Linked DNA regions of Homo sapiens: all the other regions are linked to region 1. Evidence: promoter capture Hi-C in 16 types of primary human blood cells and fetal thymus (Javierre and others, 2016). All regions are on one chromosome and are shown on one strand. The core of a region is centred on a gene start or on the middle of the fragment in contact, and the rest is flanking DNA. Distances in the headings are between cores, read along the strand shown. Region 1 holds the start of FYB2 (FYN binding protein 2). Region 2 has its middle 51 kb from the start of MYSM1. Region 3 overlaps OMA1 (OMA1 zinc metallopeptidase). Region 4 has its middle 140 kb from the start of MIR4422. Region 5 has its middle 150 kb from the start of MIR4422. Region 6 has its middle 180 kb from the start of DAB1-AS1.

The links. Contacts are between HindIII fragments. The CHiCAGO score rates a contact against its expected background, and 5 or more counts as called.
Region 2: a contact is called between a fragment that was not itself captured here and the fragment with the promoter of FYB2 in region 1, in 1 of 17 cell types (naive B cells). The highest score is 6.1, in naive B cells.
Region 3: a contact is called between a fragment that was not itself captured here and the fragment with the promoter of FYB2 in region 1, in 1 of 17 cell types (naive CD8 T cells). The highest score is 5.0, in naive CD8 T cells.
Region 4: a contact is called between a fragment that was not itself captured here and the fragment with the promoter of FYB2 in region 1, in 1 of 17 cell types (M2 macrophages). The highest score is 10.9, in M2 macrophages.
Region 5: a fragment that was not itself captured here is called in contact with the fragment with the promoter of FYB2 in region 1 in 4 of 17 cell types (M2 macrophages, M1 macrophages, naive B cells and 1 more); the score reaches 10.7 in M2 macrophages.
Region 6: a contact is called between a fragment that was not itself captured here and the fragment with the promoter of FYB2 in region 1, in 6 of 17 cell types (naive CD4 T cells, M2 macrophages, total CD4 T cells and 3 more). The highest score is 7.9, in naive CD4 T cells.

Annotation. Positions count from the first base shown.
Region 1 is chr1:56,817,785-56,820,927 of GRCh38, forward strand. FYB2 (FYN binding protein 2) reads right to left here and starts at 1,620. Exons shown (of 20, transcript NM_001004303.5): 1 at 1,498-1,620. The coding sequence starts at 1,506. The HindIII fragment of the contact is 7,052 bases long and covers 1-3,143 here.
Region 2 is chr1:58,647,753-58,650,895 of GRCh38, forward strand. No RefSeq gene overlaps it. Among named protein-coding and RNA genes, the nearest start is that of MYSM1, 51 kb to the right of the region's middle. The HindIII fragment of the contact is 987 bases long and covers 1,095-2,081 here.
Region 3 is chr1:58,495,273-58,498,415 of GRCh38, forward strand. The region is part of intron 8 of OMA1 (OMA1 zinc metallopeptidase); the gene reads right to left. It also overlaps a transcript of DAB1 not described here. Among named protein-coding and RNA genes, the nearest start is that of OMA1, 50 kb to the right of the region's middle. The HindIII fragment of the contact is 533 bases long and covers 1,255-1,787 here.
Region 4 is chr1:55,361,405-55,364,547 of GRCh38, forward strand. No RefSeq gene overlaps it. Among named protein-coding and RNA genes, the nearest start is that of MIR4422, 140 kb to the left of the region's middle. The HindIII fragment of the contact is 685 bases long and covers 1,124-1,808 here.
Region 5 is chr1:55,378,352-55,381,494 of GRCh38, forward strand. No RefSeq gene overlaps it. Among named protein-coding and RNA genes, the nearest start is that of MIR4422, 150 kb to the left of the region's middle. The HindIII fragment of the contact is 1,319 bases long and covers 1,033-2,351 here.
Region 6 is chr1:58,038,320-58,041,462 of GRCh38, forward strand. It overlaps a transcript of DAB1 not described here. Among named protein-coding and RNA genes, the nearest start is that of DAB1-AS1, 180 kb to the left of the region's middle. The HindIII fragment of the contact is 1,936 bases long and covers 498-2,433 here.

The DNA.
Region 1 (3,143 bases), core at 370-2,869:
TGATTAGCTAACAAACATGCTCTTTTGTACATTTTTGTCTAATTTGCCTAACATTCTTCCTGCTGTCCTATTGTAATCCTTGCTAGCGATGCTTGGCTTATAGTTGGCACTGACACATGTAAGCTCATGTCCCAGCTCTGCTGCCAGTGGTATGATACTGAGCAAGTGATAACATTGTCAGTTACCTCATCTACAATAAATGGGGCAATGGCATAGACCACACTGTATTGTCATCAGATAAACTGAAATAATGGATGCCAGTGCGGATCCTGGCCCATCAGAGATGGGGAAAATGTAAGTCAGTTTCCTTTTCTTACAAGCACGCTAAATCTATTCAGCCTGGCACTTTCCCGTCAAGGAGGAGTTTCTTAAAAATTGCTAAGTGGTATGGTCGAGGTGGGGGTGGCGGGGAGAACTCAGAGGAGGGAGATGAAGTCATACCAACATGCCCCTGCTCACCCCTTTCCAAAACTCAGCTATTTGGACTGGAGTGATTTGCCACAGAGAGAAACATGCCCTTTGCCCTGAGACAAAGGGGAGCTTTTCCTGACCAGCAAAAGCTAAAATGGATCCTCTGCCCTGATTTAAAACCAAACTTGTGGGTGAGAAGCCACATGATTCATGGGAGAAAATGACTTGACTCCAAATATATAATAAAAAGTATGGAAGCAACACACACACACACACACACACACACACACACACACACACACACATGCACACGCACATCAAAAGAAACTGACTTACTGAAGACGGAAATAGAGGAGAGTGGAGAATTGGAGAAGGAAAAAGGAAGATGTGGTCAGTCAGGCAAGACGTCTCCAACTGTGCCAACAGCACTCAGCCATCCAAGGGGCAGGGAATGCTGGCGTAGGGCAGGATACTTTTCCATACATCTCTATTTATACAAGCACCTCTGATAGTCTCACAAAGTAGTTATTGTACCAGTAATTCTCTTTCATGAGTGAGGGACCCAGGGCTCAGGATGACGGACACACTTGCCCCAGGCCACACAGTTAACAAGGAGCAGAACCCGGTCTAGAGCCACAAGCCACAAAAGAGCAATGCACAGCCGGCTTCCTAGCACCAAGCACTGCTCTCTGACCAGGAGGCCCGCTAATCACTGCAGAGGCCAGATACAGTCCACAAGGGCAAGTAAACACAGAGAGAAGCCAGCGGGCGCTTCAACGGAGGATCTGGGAATAGGTCAGGAGTCCAGCTGGCTGGGTAGAGCTAGGCCACATGCTGTCATTCCTCAGCACCTCCTGTCCCCTCACACTCCAGGTGGCACAGGACATGGCACACTCCTCTTCCCTCCCACCCGCCCTGAGCAAAGCCAGTGTGAGCAGAAATGCACTGGCTGACACCTGACATGTTTATTCCTGCCCAGGAGGCAGCACACACAAGCAGTTTTTCCCCAGGGCTCTCAAGTGGGAGGAACTTGTCCTGCAAGAAAAGACACACAGAAAGCCAGCAACAAAACTGAGACAGCCTTACCCCTTCCATTGCTTTCCTCCAAGGCAGAGTCAGGGAAACAAGCCCAGCCTCTCAGAGCTGGGTCCTGGGGCCAACAATCCGCTTTCCTCTGTCTCTGCTAGCCAGGGAGCAATCACTTCCCACAGGACACACCTGAGCCCAGGCTCCCCACCTGCCCCATCTGGGCCGAGGCTCCTCCCTTGCCTGGGGCTGGGCCAGGGCCGGCCGCCATCCTCCCAGCTTGGCTTAGACCAGCACCTGCAGGGGACTGGGGAGAGTACTCCACCTGCAGTCCTGCCAAGCCCACCTCTTCTCAGCAAGCGGCTCTTCCCGTTGCTCCCCTCCGGCTGGTCTGACAGTCACTCACTCTCCAGGGCATTTGTGCCCAGGCAGCAGGAGCTGTGAAGGAATGGGGATGGCAGGCTCCTGTTAGTACAGACCATGCAGGCTGGACAGTGTGATCCCCGTTAGTAACAACCTCTGCCAGCTCCGCCCCTGCAGACGGCTACTTAATTTCACAAACCCTTTCTCACGGTCAGGGAAACCAAAGCCCAGCAGGACAGCATGCCTAAGCCCACAGGGGGATTTAGTGGAGGCCAGAAAAGGAGTTAACATAAAGGAGCACCCTGTTTTTGGCCTGGTGTTTATTGAGGCATTTGGATTCCCATTTTAAAAGGTGAAGAATGGCCGGGTGCAGTGGCTCACACCTGCAATCCCAGCACTTTGGGAGGTCGAGGTGTGTGGATCACTTGAGGTCAGGAGTTTGAGACCAGCGTGGCCAACATGGTGAAACCCTGTCTCTACCAAAAATATAAAAAAAATTAGCCAGGTGTGGTAGTGGGTGCCTGTAATCCCAGCTACTTGGGAGGCTGAGGCAGGAGAATTGCTTGTACCTGGGAGGCAGACGTTGCAGTGAGCCGAGATCATGCCACTGCACTCCAGGGGGACAGAGTGAGACTCCGTCTCAAAAAAAAAAAAAAAAGTGAGGAAACTGAGTCTCAGAGAGATGGTAACACCTGCCCATGGTCACATAGGTAGTAACTAGAAGAGCCAGGGTTGGAACCCAGATCTGGCTGACTCTAAAGTGATTTTATTTTGCTGGGGTTATTTTTGTTTGTTTGTTTTTCTGACAGAGCTGGAGATGGAAACCCAAACCTCAGTTGCCAGTTTTGGGGCTTTCAGCTCTCCCGGGGTTGGGGATGGGCAGAGTGGGTGGCCTGCGCCCTGCTTTATGTGTAACCGGTGTGACTTTTCTTGCTTTGTCAAGTTCTTAGAAATCTTCTCCTGTCCTGACCAGGGAGAGGCGGGGTGGAGCACAGGTGAGGAGACCCCGCCTGAGGGCCATTTCCTCTAACAGGTGATTCCCAAACCTGGCTGATCACCAGAGCTGCCTGGGAATCTATCAAAAATACAGGATTCAAGTCCCAGACAAAACACTGCATCAATGCTTCTGGCCCAGGGACTGGCAGTTTGGGTTTTATAAAAGCCTTTGAGGTCTATGTATTTTAAACTTTATTAATGAATGACTCACAGTAAGATGTACCTTTTACATCCTTCCTCAACACACATACACATCAGCTAAAAGAAAAACTCCCCAAAGCAGTACTCACTCTTACCTTGTGTAATCGTGCTGATATTTTCCATTCTGTTCTGAGCCATGACATGCC
Region 2 (3,143 bases), core at 338-2,837, 1.8 Mb after region 1:
CGCCTTTAGTCGCTGCTACTTGGGAGGTTGAGGTGGGAGGACCGCTTGAGCCCAGGAGTTCAAGACTGTGGTGAACTATGGTGACACCACTGCACTGCAGCCTGGGCAACAGAGTGAGACCCTGTCTCTTAAAAAATAATAATAATATATGCTAATCAAAGGGAATGTAGAAACTATAGAAAAGCATGCTGGATTTGGGTTAATGGATTGGTCACACACAATGAAATCCCATGCCCTCCTGAAACATCACTCAAGCACAGCAAGGTAGTAGGGGGGCTTTGTTTTGAGAGACGTGACAATAATGAATCAATGCATGGGGTCTGACTTAGCAGGTCTGGAGAGTGGGAGAAGCAGACCCTCAAGAAGTGACCTGATTTACCTTGTGGAACCCCCAAAGCTCAAGAATTTGTAGCACCAGGGACATCTGGAATTGGGGATGCCAGTGGGGCTAGAATGATGATAGCTGGTAGAAGGTGGGTTGTGGGTTTAAGGCTAGGCACGGTGGCTCACGCCTGTAATCCCAGCACTTTGGGAGGCTGCCGGGGGAGGATCACTTGAGGTCAGGAGTTGGAGACCAGCCTGGCCAACATGTTGAAACCCCATCTCTACTAAAAATAGAAAAATTAGCCAGGCGTGGTGGTGAATGCCTGTAATCCCAGCTACTCAGGAGGCTGAGGCAGGAGAATCGCTTGAACCTGGGAGATGGAGGTTGCAGTGAGCCGAAATCACACCACTGCACTCCAGCCTGGGTGGCACAGTGAGACTGTCTCAAACACACACACACACACACACACACACACACACACACACACACACACACACACACAGAGAGAGAGAGAGAGAGAGAGAGAGAGAGAGAGAGAGAAAGTGGGTTTAAGATGTAGTTATCCCTTAGTGGCTTCCTGCTTCCTTAGCAGGCTACTGACCATCTCACCCCCAAGAGGGTAGTCGCTGCCTGGTCAGTCTCTGGAGAAAGTGAAGCAGAACCTTTCTGGAGTGGGGAAAAATTGGAGGATTAGGTGAAAGTTTACATGCTCAATTTTGAGGTGTCTATATCTTTTCTCCTACTTGGCTCCCCAGGGATCTGGAAGCCAAGCTTAAAACTTGGGTGAGAGATTGGGCAGACATTGGAAATAAACAGGGCCAACCATAAGGGCCACTGTACTTCCCAGTGCCTCCTCCCTTCAGCCAAATCGGCTCTGCTTGGTTCCTTCCTTCCTTCCCTCTCTCCCTCCGTCTCTCTCTCTTTCTAGATGTAACTCATAGATCATCAAGTTCACCACTTTTAAGTGTGGTTTTTAGTATCCGGAGTGGTTTTTAGTATATTCACAAGGTTGTACAACCGTCACCATCACCACTAATTCCAGAACATGTCATCACCCCAAAAAGACATCCTGTATCCATTAGCAGTCACTCCCCAATCCCTTCTTCCCACCTGAGACTCTGGCAACTTCTAATCTACTTTTTCTATCTATGATTTGCTTATTCTGGACATTTTCTAGAAATGGAATAATACAAAATGTGGTCATTTATGTCTGACTTCTTCACTAAGCATAATGTTTTCAAGGCTCATTAATGTTGTAATATATGTCAGTGCTTTATTTCTCTTTGTGGCTGAATAATAATTCCATTGTATGGGTAGACCATGTTTAATTTATCCATTTATCAGTTGATATCCAGTTGGGTTTTTTCTATTTTTTGGTTATTACTTGTTTTATATGCTTGGTTTTAATGCAAGATTTGTTTTCAACAGCGATTTCTAACTAAATAAAAGTCTGAATACTACTGGCTTAGAGAAACCTTTTCATTTTAGGATTTGAAGATGTTGGCTGTTGATTGCCTGAATCTCTTTCCATGAGGAACATGAAAGCACCCCTCTCTAAAATAGCATTGGACACCCTGGGGGACCTGACCCCATGTCCACATCCCCTTCTGTGGTCCCCGACTCCTAGCCACACACGATGCACACCAGCCTCACGGAAATCTACAATTCTTGGCACTGTGCCACCGCTTCCGGGGCACCTTCTGCCTAGAGTGCCTTTTCTCTCTTCTCTTCCTGTCCAGATCTATTTCACCAAGAAAGCTTTTGACCAGAAATCCAGGGCTCCTATTGTACAGCCCTGTCTCTCTACAAAACCAGAAGGAACTTCATGCCACATAGAGCCCTGCAGGTCCCACAGCCTGTCCCAGGTCCCTGGATCAGGAGGGAGGGCTCTTGAACGCGTAAACCCCAGGGACATGGCAAAATCCTTTCCTTCTCCTTTTGCAGCAACAAAAGGCCCCCAAGCCCTCCAAATGTCTGCTTTTTAGCATTGCTATTTTGGTTCTATTGTTGTTCTCCCTCCTAAGGAGGAGACGGTAACTAACTGCATTCTGGGTCTGCCCAGAGTATGATATATCTTCCTCCGCTGGGCCCTGGGCAGAGAAGCTGGGCTGCATTGATTTCCTGGGTGAAACGGAAGTGCAATTCACAGGCATCTTTCAAAGTGGAGAAAGGTCCTGGGTGTGGGCTGGAGCTGGACCTGTCTCTCCTGGCTCCCCTCAGGCAGGGCTGTGGATGATGCACCTAGTCCTGTTTGCCTGACAGAAAAATCACTTGCCCAGAAAATGCAGAACCCATCCCACTGCTGGACCTCAAATCCAGCATGACTAAGGCACCTTAGTCATCTTTAAATGGATTCTACCCTTTTGCCTGTTTTTTCTGTTTTTTGGTTTTTTTTTTCATTTTGTTTTCCATGTATGAACCCCACAGAAGAGAACACAAGGTGATGGATGAAAATGTTTGAGCAGTTGCTACCCAACTCGTAGTGATAAAAATACTCAGGATATAAAGTGGTAACACCGCTGACGCCTCATAATTACCCAAGTTATGTTGCACTTTTGATTAGAAAATGCAATTATGTTTATAGTGTTATAATCTCACCTGCCTTTGTGTTTTTGAGAAAATTGCAAGAGAATACCTCTCCTGGAGTAGGCTGCCCTTGCTAATCAGTTGATTCATGTCTCTTGAAGTGCTCATTGCACTTAAGATAATGAAGAGATGTGGCTTCTCCGGGGCTCTCAGCTCCCACCTAGACTCTGGGGCTTGTTTTTCAGAACAAACAGCTTTGTCTCAGTTGTTTTCTACTCCTCACAGGAAATCC
Region 3 (3,143 bases), core at 271-2,770, 1.7 Mb after region 1:
GTGGGAGGAGGAGGGAGGGATAGCATTAGGAGATATACCTAATGTTAAATGACGAGTTAATGGGTGCAGCACACCAACATGGCACATGTATATATATGTAACACACCTGCATGTTGTGCACATGTACCCTAAAACTTAAAGTATAATAATAATAATAATACATTCCTTTTTTTAGGATTTAGTTTCTCATGCCACTTAAATTTTATTTTTCATATTATTCAGCTGAATTTTTTGGTAGTTCCTTACTTGATCTGTGGTTTTCTAACAATGGCAGGGTGCAAGCTAGTTACAATTATATTTAAACAAACAAAACTGTATATTTTATCTAATTCCTGATTGTCAGTAGATTCTGGAAAGAGCACTGTTGCAACCAAGAACTTCACTGACATATTGTCCTATGTGTTTCATTTGCTAAGGATCTTCCACCATAAAAAAAAAAAAAGTTAGTTTTTGTAGATATCATACCAAAGTGTATTAGTTCCACTGTTTTTTGTTTTGTTTCTTTCCTCCAAAACTCTTACACTTCCTCCAACAGCAAGAAGTATAAGAACTTAGGAGGAAAGAAATATCTTCCTTATGCTTATGAAAAGAAAGGTCCAGAGTCATTCTTACTCTTGTATGCCTTTTTACCTAGGTAGCTTGTAAAAGCCTGTCTTTGCAATGAAGATTAAACACTTCATAAGTTTAAATATCTAAGCTTGTCATTTCAGGGCTTCCCATGGATGATACTCTGGGAATCTCCTAAAAACCCATCTTGAGAAATGTTAACTAAATAAAAAAATATGATATAGAAACCACAATCAAAGAAATGAAGACATGTACAAATGTATCTTTCCCATTGTTATATGCAGCTTGGATTTCCTGGTGCCTTTTCAATATTCTTTCATTTTTTTAGACTTTTTTTTTTTGGCTTTGGGCATTTTAATTTGGTTGTGCTATGTTCCTCTATCTTCCGCATCAATGAGTCTTTGCTCTGAGGTATCAATTCTGCTCTTTACAGCCTCCACCGAAAGTTTTACAGCTTCTCTGTTGAATTCACAAGTTTAACAATTTTCTGAAATGGATTTATCTTACATTTGTAAAGTCGTTCTTTCAGATTCTGTCACTTTCAGTGCAGTTAAATCAACCTTATCATGCCAGCTTCAGGTGGCACTGCTTCTATGTTCTTGCCGCCTTGCCTGTCCTCTCCCATAAAGTAACATTTTTAAGTTTGACTTGAGATTTGGTTTTGTTTTTCGTATTTCTGCTCTTTAAAGCTTATCTCACTGGGGAACAATGAGCATTTCAGAGGCTTTGTTTTGTTGCTATTGCTGAATTTTGTTTACATGAGGGTCCTTGTGGAGTTATTAAAGGCACTTAGACATTCAATAATCTTTTAAATAAGATTATCCTCATTTTTCCTTTCAACTCTGTTTTTCCAACTCTTGTACACTTACCGTTCTGATTTTTTAAAAGTCTCTCTTACCTACCTCTTAAGTCTATTCCTGAATAAGATAAAAGTGTCTGCAACATCTTTTATTCCATTAGGGTTAATTTGGCTGGTCTGAGTTCTAAATAGATTCTACATAGATTTCTCGTGAAGACACATTTCTCAGGTTGTTTGAAAACTGATTATTTGCAGGGTGGTGCTAAATTATCACCCCACAATCACTTGCTGGCCACAAGGAAGAAAACCACCTTTGCAAACAAAGAACCAGGCCATCACCATCCAACCCACTGATGGCCTTCAGCATCACCAGATGTGGGGCAGCCAGGTATTAAGAGACTTCCAATGCAAAGCACTATGAAGCTTAGTTGCATCACCTATAAAATATCCTTCCCAAAATTTAATCTCTATTTACAGGTATATATAGAAACAAGTTAGAAATACCACGAAGAAGCAATCAAGTTAATCCAGAATCTACAATGTGGGATTATATGTACTCACCAATTCAATGACAAGTTTTAAAACAAACAAAACAAAAGGGAGGGGGGTACTGTCCTAAAGTCAAAAGGACTTTAGGGACGTAAGGACCAAATGCAATGTGTGGATCATGAAGTATCCTAATTTAAACAGGCCAACTGTAACACTGCTGAGATACAGAAATCTGATGTAGACAGAATATTTAATTTTAAGGAATTACTATGAGTTTCCTTAGGCATGATAATGTTATGATTATGGAAGAAAATGATACTACTTTCTGAAATGCATACTAAAGTTGATGGAGTTCAGGACATATCATTCCAAAATAAGACTCCAGGAGACCAGACTATGCCACCCCAAATATGCCTCTTTAGCATAAGAGTTATTTTCTACTAATTATTTTGGGCAATAGCAGACATAGGGGAAGTTCTGAAAACAGGAAGAAGAAGTTACCGTTTTCTCAGAGAAATATGTATCTACGAAGGAAATCTCTAATTTGCAAGTATGTCTCCCTCTCTGTACCAGAAAGAGAAGGATGACTCTAAATCACTGGAAACTCTTATCAACAAAGAAGGTACAATCTACATAACAAACCTTACCCTTGCTCACTGCTTTTCCTGACCACCTCTCTACAACGTGGCGGCTTTCCCTGCACCTTTCTGTCTTAGTTTCAGTTGAAGATGGTATTTACACCTGAACTCAAAGCCACCTCTTGGAGAATTATTCATTCCATGGGTATCTCCCAGGTATACAGGAAGTATACATGTTAAAAAGCTTCCATTTCCCTCTTGTTAATCTGTCTTTTAATACAGGGGTTCATCTCAACTAAGAACTATGAAGCATAGAGAGAAAATTATTTTCTCCTCCCCTATAAGGCCCTGATATCTGGGCTTTATATCAAAATACTTCTGAGAAAAACAGAGATGGGACAGATGAAGCAAGTGTATAAAAGGATTATACTGTTCAATATCAGTGGGTGAAAAATAGGGGCTCATTAAGCTATTCAAATTATTCTCTATCTTGACATGTATTTTAAACATTTATAATAATGGTAAAACTAAAAGTTAAAAAAAAAAAACAACTTTTTCCATTGTCTTCCATTCTCCTCTACCATTTTTGCATTCCTATAACTTCACCCTTGATTTTACAACTGTTTTTAGTTCTAAATGGCTCATGAGAGGTTTAAATTTTAAATATTTCTCCTGGAAAATGAAACTAGTCCCTTTACTACCACCTCTAT
Region 4 (3,143 bases), core at 216-2,715, 1.5 Mb before region 1:
AACTGGCTCTCTTTCCATCATGTGAGGACACAAGGAGAAGCTGGCAATCTGTAACCTATAAGAGAGCCCTCGCTAGAACCTGATCTTGCTGGCACCCTGACCTTGGACTTCCAGCCTCCAGAATGTGAGGAATAAATATTTGTTGTTTAAGCTACCCAATGGTAAGTTGTTACAGCAGTCCTAACAAAGACAGCTAGTGAAGTTGAAGATGTATAGATCTTATCACCAGGGACCTCACTCTTAGGTACATTTCTCAGAGAAATCTTGCATACATGCATAGAGAAATAGAGAAAAATAGCAGCCTTGTTTATAATAGAAAGACATTGGAAATAAGCTATTTTTTATTTTTAGAGACAGGGGTCTCACTATGTTGTCCAGGCTGGACTTGAACTCCTGGGGTAAAGTGATCCTCCTGCCTTGGCCTCCTAAGTACCTGGGACTCCATGTGCACACCACCATGACTGGTTTGAAAATAACCTAAATGTTCATCCCTATGAGAATGGCTAAAATAAATTGTGTATTTCTGTATTCATGATACTATACATCATTAGAATGAATGAAATTCGATTGCATATATCAATTGGGTAAGTCTCAAAAACTATGTTGAGTGAAGGAAGCAAGTCATTAGGAGAATCAAGGCTTGGTTTGAAAATAACCTAAATGTTCATCCCTATGAGAATGGCTAAAATAAATTGTGTATTTCTGTATTCATGATACTATACATCATTAGAATGAATGAAATTCGATTGCATATATCAATTGGGTAAGTCTCAAAAACTATGTTGAGTGAAGGAAGCAAGTCATTAGGAGAATCAAGGCTATTTGCTAAAGTTTAAAAACCCACAAAAGTAGTATTACTGTTTTATAAATACATATGTGATAGAAATATAAAAATATGAAAGAGAATGACATAAACTTCAGGACAGTGGTTTCCTCTGGGATGCAGGGAAGGGAATGAGATTAGGGAGGACGACATCAAGTATATCTGTAATATTTTAATCCTTAATACAAGTGAGAGTTATGCAGATGCTTATTATACTGTTGTTGATACTTTTTATATGCCTGAAATAATAATAATGTACTTACATATAATTTCCATATACTCTAAAAATAGAGGAGATAAAGCTTCTCTACAGTCAGAATAATTTGTACTTCCCTAAAGAACCTCTGAGAGACCTGATAAAAGAAAGAAATGCAGGCAGCAGTCCAATGTTTTCAGTATTAATTGGAATTTGGATCTTAATTTGGGTGCAGAGGAAGCCATTAAAAGGTTGTGGCTGAGGAATGATCTCATTTTTGGCTTGCAAGGCCTTTGAAACGCGACTCTGTTTCTCTTAGTCATCCTCATCTGACTGTCCCAGCCTCCCAAGTTTTTCTTCTAGTAACTTCACACTTCTGGTAAGTTCCTAGTTATGCCACTCACAACTCCGTGCAGTTGCTCATGGCTCCCTGTGCTTAGCACTTATTTCTTTCTAGATGATCCACACTCTCCTTTCCAGAGCCAGCTAAGGCAATGCTATCTCTTACCAAGTTTATCTTGTTTCCCTCAGGATGGGTTAGGTTTCCCTCTGAACTCCCAGAGCTCCCTTTAGTATTGATGGCCAATCTTATTTCATCTTTGTCTTTCTGGTCCCCAGCAAAGGGCTGGAGTCAGCATAAGTGCTCAGGAAATGAAAATGTTGTTAGAGCAAGAAAGTATAAATGGAGCATTTGTTCAAGTCCCTTCTAGAACTACTGACTTCTAATAATGGCTCACATGGTCATAAAATAACATCACAGTGGAAATTAGATCCTATAATCCTTCATAAAGCTTGAGTAAAAACCTTGGAAAAGAAAACTCTGAAAAAGGGGTAGGATTGGGTGAAGGATTGGGTGTGAGGTTTGGAGGGAGAACATAGTGATGGGTCCAGACTTAAGAAGCTTCCTGATAGCCACTTAGCAAGGTGGAGTCTGCATAGACAAGAACCCAAGTCTCTTCATTCCTGGCCAGGGCTCTTTCTTTTGTTCTACTTTCTGTGGCTTGAGAAAACAGCTGCTCTGTATCATCTTCTTAAAATCTCTTCCAGTACTTACAACAGGAAATGACTCTCCAGTTCTTGGGTAGTGAAACTGGGTCAACTATAACAGGTGGCTTGGAAGAACCTATGATAAGAGGCACTAGAGAACAGACAAGCCTCAGGAAAGCAATATTAAACTTAAGCGGGGTCTCAGAAAGGTCTTTGTAGTTGAATCAAGTTAAAACAAGTTTGGTTCCAAGGGTCTGGTGACTCTCCTAAACATACTTACACATCTGGATATTGAACTGAATTCCAATAGAAATCCATCATTGAGGATTATCTAGGGACAAATTTTTGTGCAAAAAAATAAATGATTGAATGATGAATTATCATATAGATGACGTTGACCAGCTGTTCATCATTAAAATACAGAATAAGACAGAGGCCATAAACAAGATAAGGCTTCCATGGCATTAGAAGAAGTGTGGATGGATGTGCTAATTATCTTTGAATCTCAGGGTCAACCTAGGGCCTGGAACATGGTAGGTTTGCACCAAGATTTTCTGACTGAATGGATGAGCTCTGGAGAAATTGCATGACTGGAAACAGCTTCACCAGTCACCTCTTATATTAATGCATCTGGTTTGGAAGAGAGTTGGTGGCAAAATAAAAAAAACAGACTTCCTACAAGAGCTTTTACCATCAGGCTAACCAGAAACACCAAATCCATGTCATCAGCGGGATTAAAACCAAGGGAAGGCTGGGCAGGGTTCTTAATGGTTGAGAATGAGGAGTTTCTGGGTTATGATGGTGGCTTTCCAGTAGTGCTTGATTTAACCACCCTCTCTCTCATCAAAATACTCCCAAATGCAGAATAAGACATAAAGTTGCAACAGCCTGGAAGGAATGACTTTTCATGAATAATTTGGAGGTCTCTGGAAGGGGTTTTGTCTTGCCACAGCATTGATGGAATGGGATTGAGAAATAACCGACACTGACCTCAAAAGTAGAACCACAGCATTGGACTGGAACATCTACACACATACCAGAATGCCTTGCCACCCATTGCCTGGGAACAGCACTCTAGAGCAGGCGGGTTCACTTTCAACTGTTCCTACTGTCCATCTGTGCCTCTCTTTCTGCATC
Region 5 (3,143 bases), core at 442-2,941, 1.4 Mb before region 1:
TCTTATAATAAGAAAAAAAACAATAAAAGTTGTTTTTAAAAAATCAAATTACAGCACACATTTTGCCTGGGGACACGCTTAGGAGAACAGGCATTTTAAACTAAGTGGTCGCCAAAGTACAAAATGTTACAGTTGATCCACACGGATGATTCTCTCCTCTCCCTCCCCATGGCCAGGAATTGGGCAAGCAGATCATATAGGAATTTACCTGTGAAAGTGGATAAGTCCCCTGTAGCGTGCTTGCACAGATGGCCATACCACGGATGCAGCAGTGATTAGCCATGTAAACTCACTTTCTGCAGTTTTACCAGCATCTACCTCTCCAGCTCCTTCCAGGAGGAGTCGCTGTTGCTCTCCTCTCCCTGGATCGGCCCCACTCATTTCCTGAGTCTTACCTGACCAGAATAGGGCATACACGGTGGGCAGGAGGCCAGTATATGTGGCATGGTCCCAGGGCTTGATGTGGAGCGGTAAGGCCAGGGTAGCCAAACGCTCAGGAAGTCTCTGTTTTTAACCATCAACTCCATCACATCATCTGTCATTCGTGGTTTGTCGTATTTATTTCTCCATTTCCTGTTGGAGCTCAAGCCCTACCTTGAATCCCAGTTCGTTTGGCAAGAGTCCTGACAGCCTGCCAAGCTCCTGAAACCCTGTTCATCCTGGAGCATCTTCCTGGTACCCTCTGACCACTGGGGACGGTCCTAAGCTAAATGACCACATCATCTGGGAGTTGGTGCTACCACCTGTTTGACTCAAGTGTCTCTTGCACCCAGATTCTGATGACTGTCCTTGAACCACTAGACTGTGATACTGACATACTGACACCCCAGCCAGACTGACATCCACTAGATTCTCATTTGATTTTGCCACACCACAGGGCAGGGCCTAGTGGAAAGGACACTCCTCGTCTTGGCCCAGAAAGTCTTATGTCACCTGCTTCCTGCTTGCCCCTGAGCTCAGCTGGCAGCACTTTCCCTCTTGTTTCCTGCACTCGAGGGACATTGGTCTTCTTTTTGTTTCTTGAACATGCTAAGCTTGTTTCTACCTCAAAGCCTTTGCACATTCATTTGCTGTTCCTTCTACCTGGAGTTCTCATTCTGTGGGTCTCTTCAGCTGGTGGTTCTTTTCCATCATTAGGTCTCAGTTCAAAATCACCTCCACTTAGAGTCTCTTCCCTGAAAGACTCTGTAACCCTCCCAATCCCCCTTTGCCCTCCTTCCTCACCAAGGCCTGTCAGTGGGCCTGGGAGCCTCCTGTCCTTCCTCTCCACCATCCACTACCAAGGATGCCCCTTCAGTCTCTTAACTAGGGGCTGACAACTTTGTCTGCTCAGATAGTAAATATTTTAGACTTTGTGAGACATATACTATCTCTCTTGCATATTTTCTTTTGTTTGTTTTACAACCCTTTAAACATATAAAAACCATTCTTAGCTTTCACTTCCACACAAAGACAGACCATGGGCAAGATTTGGAATCTAGGCCGCATTTGAACAACCTGGCTCTAGATCGGCTCACCTTATTTTATATGCTTCACAATGTATCACCACCTGGAGTTATCTTGTTCATTTATTAACTTGATATTGTTTGTCTCTCCCATGAAATGGCTGAGAAATGTATGTGTCTTGGATCTCTGGTCTCTGATACAGTGCCTGGCACATAGTAGGCCCATGAAATATTTTTGTTGGATGAATAAATAAATAAATAAATGAATGCACAGGTTTTGGAGGCTAATGAATTTGGGTCAGAATCCGCTCATGCCATTTAATCCCTGTAGAAATTAGGCAAATCACTTAACATTCTAATTTTCAACGTTATCATTGGCAAAATGATAGTAACAAAAGCTCCCTTGCTGGGTTGTTGATATGACAGATTAGGAGGATACCTACAAAGCACCCAGCCAGGAGAAGGCCCTCAATAAATACTAGCTCCCTTCTGCTTTCTTCCTTTGGCACACTTTCTCCAGAAGGGACAGCATCTCTTACTTGTTTATCACCCAGTCCTAAGTCTGCTGCCTCATCCTCCCTTGGTCCAACCTCATCAAGCTCCCAGCATGCTTTGTGGCAGAGCCTCTCCAAGTATGATGAACCTCTTGGAGCAACAAACAGTGTTTACAGCAGAGATTGCTGCATGCAGTTGGGATGGAGGCCATGAGTGTGATTGATGGAAGCTGAGAGCATGAAGCTATCTGGTGGGGATGCAGATCCCCTTGGATTTAGAGAATGGCCTCCGCCCCTCCTTGTCCCTGACCAGGCCTGGCTCTAGCTTTGATTGTAATTCCCCTGACTTTTTGGAGAGAGATGGGAGGAAACAGCACAGCCAATGAAGAGACTTCCAAACTCCCCCCAGGGAAGCTTTTTGCTTCATGAGCTCCAAGGAGCTGGAATAAGATCCTCAAAGTGTGCATGCTGCCCAGCTGTGGCCACGTGGAGGGTCTTGGAGGAAATCTACAATCCCAGAATGTCAGAGCTGAAGGGAGCTGAGAGACCCCGTGAACTCCTCCTCCCTCCTCACTGAGATCTGTCCGTGGGCCATGGAGACTCCTCTCCTTCCTTCCTCTTCATTATTGCCCCAGCCAGCCTTGTTAGCTAGCTCTCTCCTGGTGGGTCTGGTCTAACTGCCACTGTGATGTCCCTTCTAGGCCATTCTTTTTCTGCTCTAGAGTCCCCTCTCTAAGTCTGATCAGGTTAGTCCCTACTGAAAACCCTTGGACGGATCCCATTGCCTCTGGATGAAGTCTAAATCCTTAGTCCGTTTGTGATGTCGTCCACAACCTGGGACCCATCTATCTTTCCCCATGCACTGCCCTCCACTGTCCCACTCTCTTGGGCTTCAAGCACACTTCAGCCTTTGAGCTCTGCTGGATCGAATGCCTCCACTCCTGTAAGATGGCCCTAGACCTTCCCTCCTGCCCTCTTCCAAGGTTGCACAGCACTCTCACTGGTCCTTTAGAGTAGCTCTCTTGACACATGGCTCTAATTCATCTTACCAATAGCTAACATTTATCAGCTGTTGACCATGTGCCCGGCCTTGATCTTCCCTAAGTACCTTAAGGTTTAAGTCATTTGCTCTCAACCACCCTACAATTAGGCAATTATTATTACTATTTTAGAGACAAAGTGAGGGACTACAGTGTAAAGTCAC
Region 6 (3,143 bases), core at 216-2,715, 1.2 Mb after region 1:
AGGAATTCAGCTTGACTCTTTGGTTCTGGATTGGCAACTAAACAGCCTCCACACAACGTACAGATCACCTTGTTATCTAGGTACTTGATTAGAAAACAAACCTGTAGTACTATCTTGGTTCCTGTCACATAATTTCTCTTGCCTTTTTTAAAGGAAAGAGAAAAGGAAACATTTGTGAATCAGCGGTTACCAACTGAGCACTCAGCCATGACCGTGGTTCTTCACCAGGGCTTCCTCTCACCTGGGTTTAATAAGCTCCTTTTTTTACCAAATCCAAAGCATGCAACTGGCACTTAAAGAGAGACCTGCCCTGATGGGGTGTTATTGGGGCCAGGATTTAAAAACTGCAGGTGAAACAGAGCCCTTCCATTCTGGGAGAGCAAGCCTCACATCAGATCTTCAGGGTAGTGCAAGGTGGATTAACACAAAGGAAGGTCCCTGCTCCCAAGGAAGCAATGCCCAGCTGCAATGATGAGTCATAACACCCTTCCCTGCAAAGCTTAATACATGTAGAAAGTTAAATATGTGCTATGAATAATATCAAAAGACCAAAGATACTTCAACGCTTAATTTCAGTGTCTCCAATTCCCCATCCCTCAATGGAGACCATCATATGTACGTTCGGGTCTTAATTTCTTACTGGCCATCCCACCCTCCTTGCCTTCCCTAGGGAGCCTCCACAGCCCACTCTGCTCCCCACACCAACCCCACTAAGCCCCGACTCTGTTAACTATGTCTCTTTAGTTTCTGTATTTCTGATGCTTTGATGTCTGGGGCCTTGCTGTTACTGCAGACTGCTACTCCATTCCCAGGCTTAGCTAATTCCTAGAGATAGTAACAAACTCTCTCAGGAGCTCACCTTTCAAATGTTAACCAATCGCTCTAGAATCCATATCCCCAACCACCTCCTTTATCTACTCTAGCCCATTTATCCACTTGCCCCTATACCTGAGCCAGGAACCAGACAGTGGGGACAGCCTCTATTCCCCAGAGCCTGCTAAATTATCTAAACCAGCCAAACTGCCTCACCTGTTCCTTCCCACAGAAACCACAATAAAGGCTCTTGATCAGGGTCCTGCCTTCCCTCTACCTCCTGAGCAATCCTGGTGCCTTGAGTGTGCACCCCCACAAGGCATGGCACTTTGTCTTGGGGTCTGTGAGTGTAACAAGCTATCTTTTCAATGGGAGTCATCTCCTGATCTGTTGGCCTTGCCATACCAAAATAATAACAGAACCTATATTTGAAAATACTTGACCCCCGCTCAGAGCCTTCTGTTCCATCCCCCGTCCCCCACATTCTTTTTCAGCCTACAGGAGTTTGACATCTGAGACTTTGGCCTCTCCCCAAGTCCTTGCACCTGGAGCCAGTAAGAGGCAGTGTGGCCCGGTAGTGAAGAGTACAGGGGTCAGAATGCCTGGGCCACCTAGAAAAGATTTCCTCACCTTTTTCTGTCCCATTTTTCTCTTCTTTCTACAGGGATAATAAAAGTACCCATCTTAATAATTTATTGTCGAGGTTGAATAAAACAATAAATATGAAGTACTTACAAAAGTGCTTGGGACATGGGAAGATTTTAATAACTATTAGTTATCAATATTATCCATTATTGTTAGGAAGCAAAGAGGAACAGTGCTAGCAAAACTAGCAAAAAAATATATAAAATTTTACCTATTGCTTCACCAGTGCTTTCCACACACGTAGAATAAGGGGTGGGCAGCTGGGAGGAATGATTGCATATTCATAAGCATCTCCAACCAAATTAATTGATAGGGCACGATAGTAATAAAAGGAATTAATTTCCATTTTAGTAACTTCACATGCTACATGTTAAGTATAGGTCCATATTACCAGTGGTCACCCAATTCCCCTTTGCATCTGTTCCATGTTGATTATGATGTCAGGAAAGCAAAAGTTAAATCCCTTTTTAAGGAAGAAAAAAAATCTAATTTAATAACATTGCAATCCTGTTGAAAGCATGATTAAATCTTAATAAGAGTGGAAGGATGTTGTGTTTCATGTCTATCCCTCTTGAAGCCCTGGTAACTTGTTCAGGGATATAGACGGGGTTGTCAAAGGACTTCACAGCCCAACCCTGGTCTCATCTGCCGGCATCCAAGACGCAGCAGAAATCTCTGATGGTGCTGACACTTCTATTTTCACTTTTCTCATCCTGGTGTTTTTTCTTATTAAAGCAGTTTGATTCTGTAATTTCTACCAGTACAGATAAAAATAAAATGACTCCCAACTTTTATTTTGACCTTATAAAACTGTGTAATTGGTTCAGAACCTTCAGGCTAAATGAGTTTCCTGCGGATTGAGAACATTGGAAGAGGAATCACAGAGTTAAAAATATACCACATGTCTAAATAGAATTAGCTCATAATATTCTATTTGAATGTACAGAAACTGCAGTCTAATGTCAATCTCATGAAAGCTTAGTTTCTGATGTATTCATATTTTTTCTCTTCAAAATAAACATAACAGCACAAAGTGCAACAAAAGGCATCCACTTCAATTCTCTCTTCTTTTCCTGAACCTCACAACTCTCAGAGAGTCCTAATTAACTACAGAATTGTGTCCAACCTCCTAAAGGTTGCACCTGGGACCCCGGGGATTGGCTCTTGCTGAACTCCCCAACCTCACCTGTTCCAACTTCATCAGACCTATGCATCACCCCCTGGATACATTACAGTTCCGTAAACAGCTACACTGGTCTCTAGCTCTGCATCTTTGCACATGCTTTGCTGCCTATCTGAAACATACTCTCCTAATAATCTTTTTTCCAAACCCAACTCCTTCTTAAGAGTTAGTTCCAGTGTCTCCTCATCTGTGAAGCCTTTAAAGTCTTCCTATTGAGCAGACCCAGGAACCCAGGCCCTCTGAGCTCTCACATAATCTTATGCAAGCCTGCATATTACAGTTGTCAAATTATTGCGCTATATTGCAACGATTGGCTTACTTGTCTCTCATCTCTCCTAGGCTGAGATTATTGACGCTGGAGCCACATCTTTTCATCTCTATGTTTCTGGAAATAGCATCTAGAAAAACACTTGGAATATACTAGGCCCTCAGCATATGATTGTGGGCTGTCTCATAAGAGCCAGGCTTATACAGCGTGTATTGTGTTTCAGGCACAACTCTG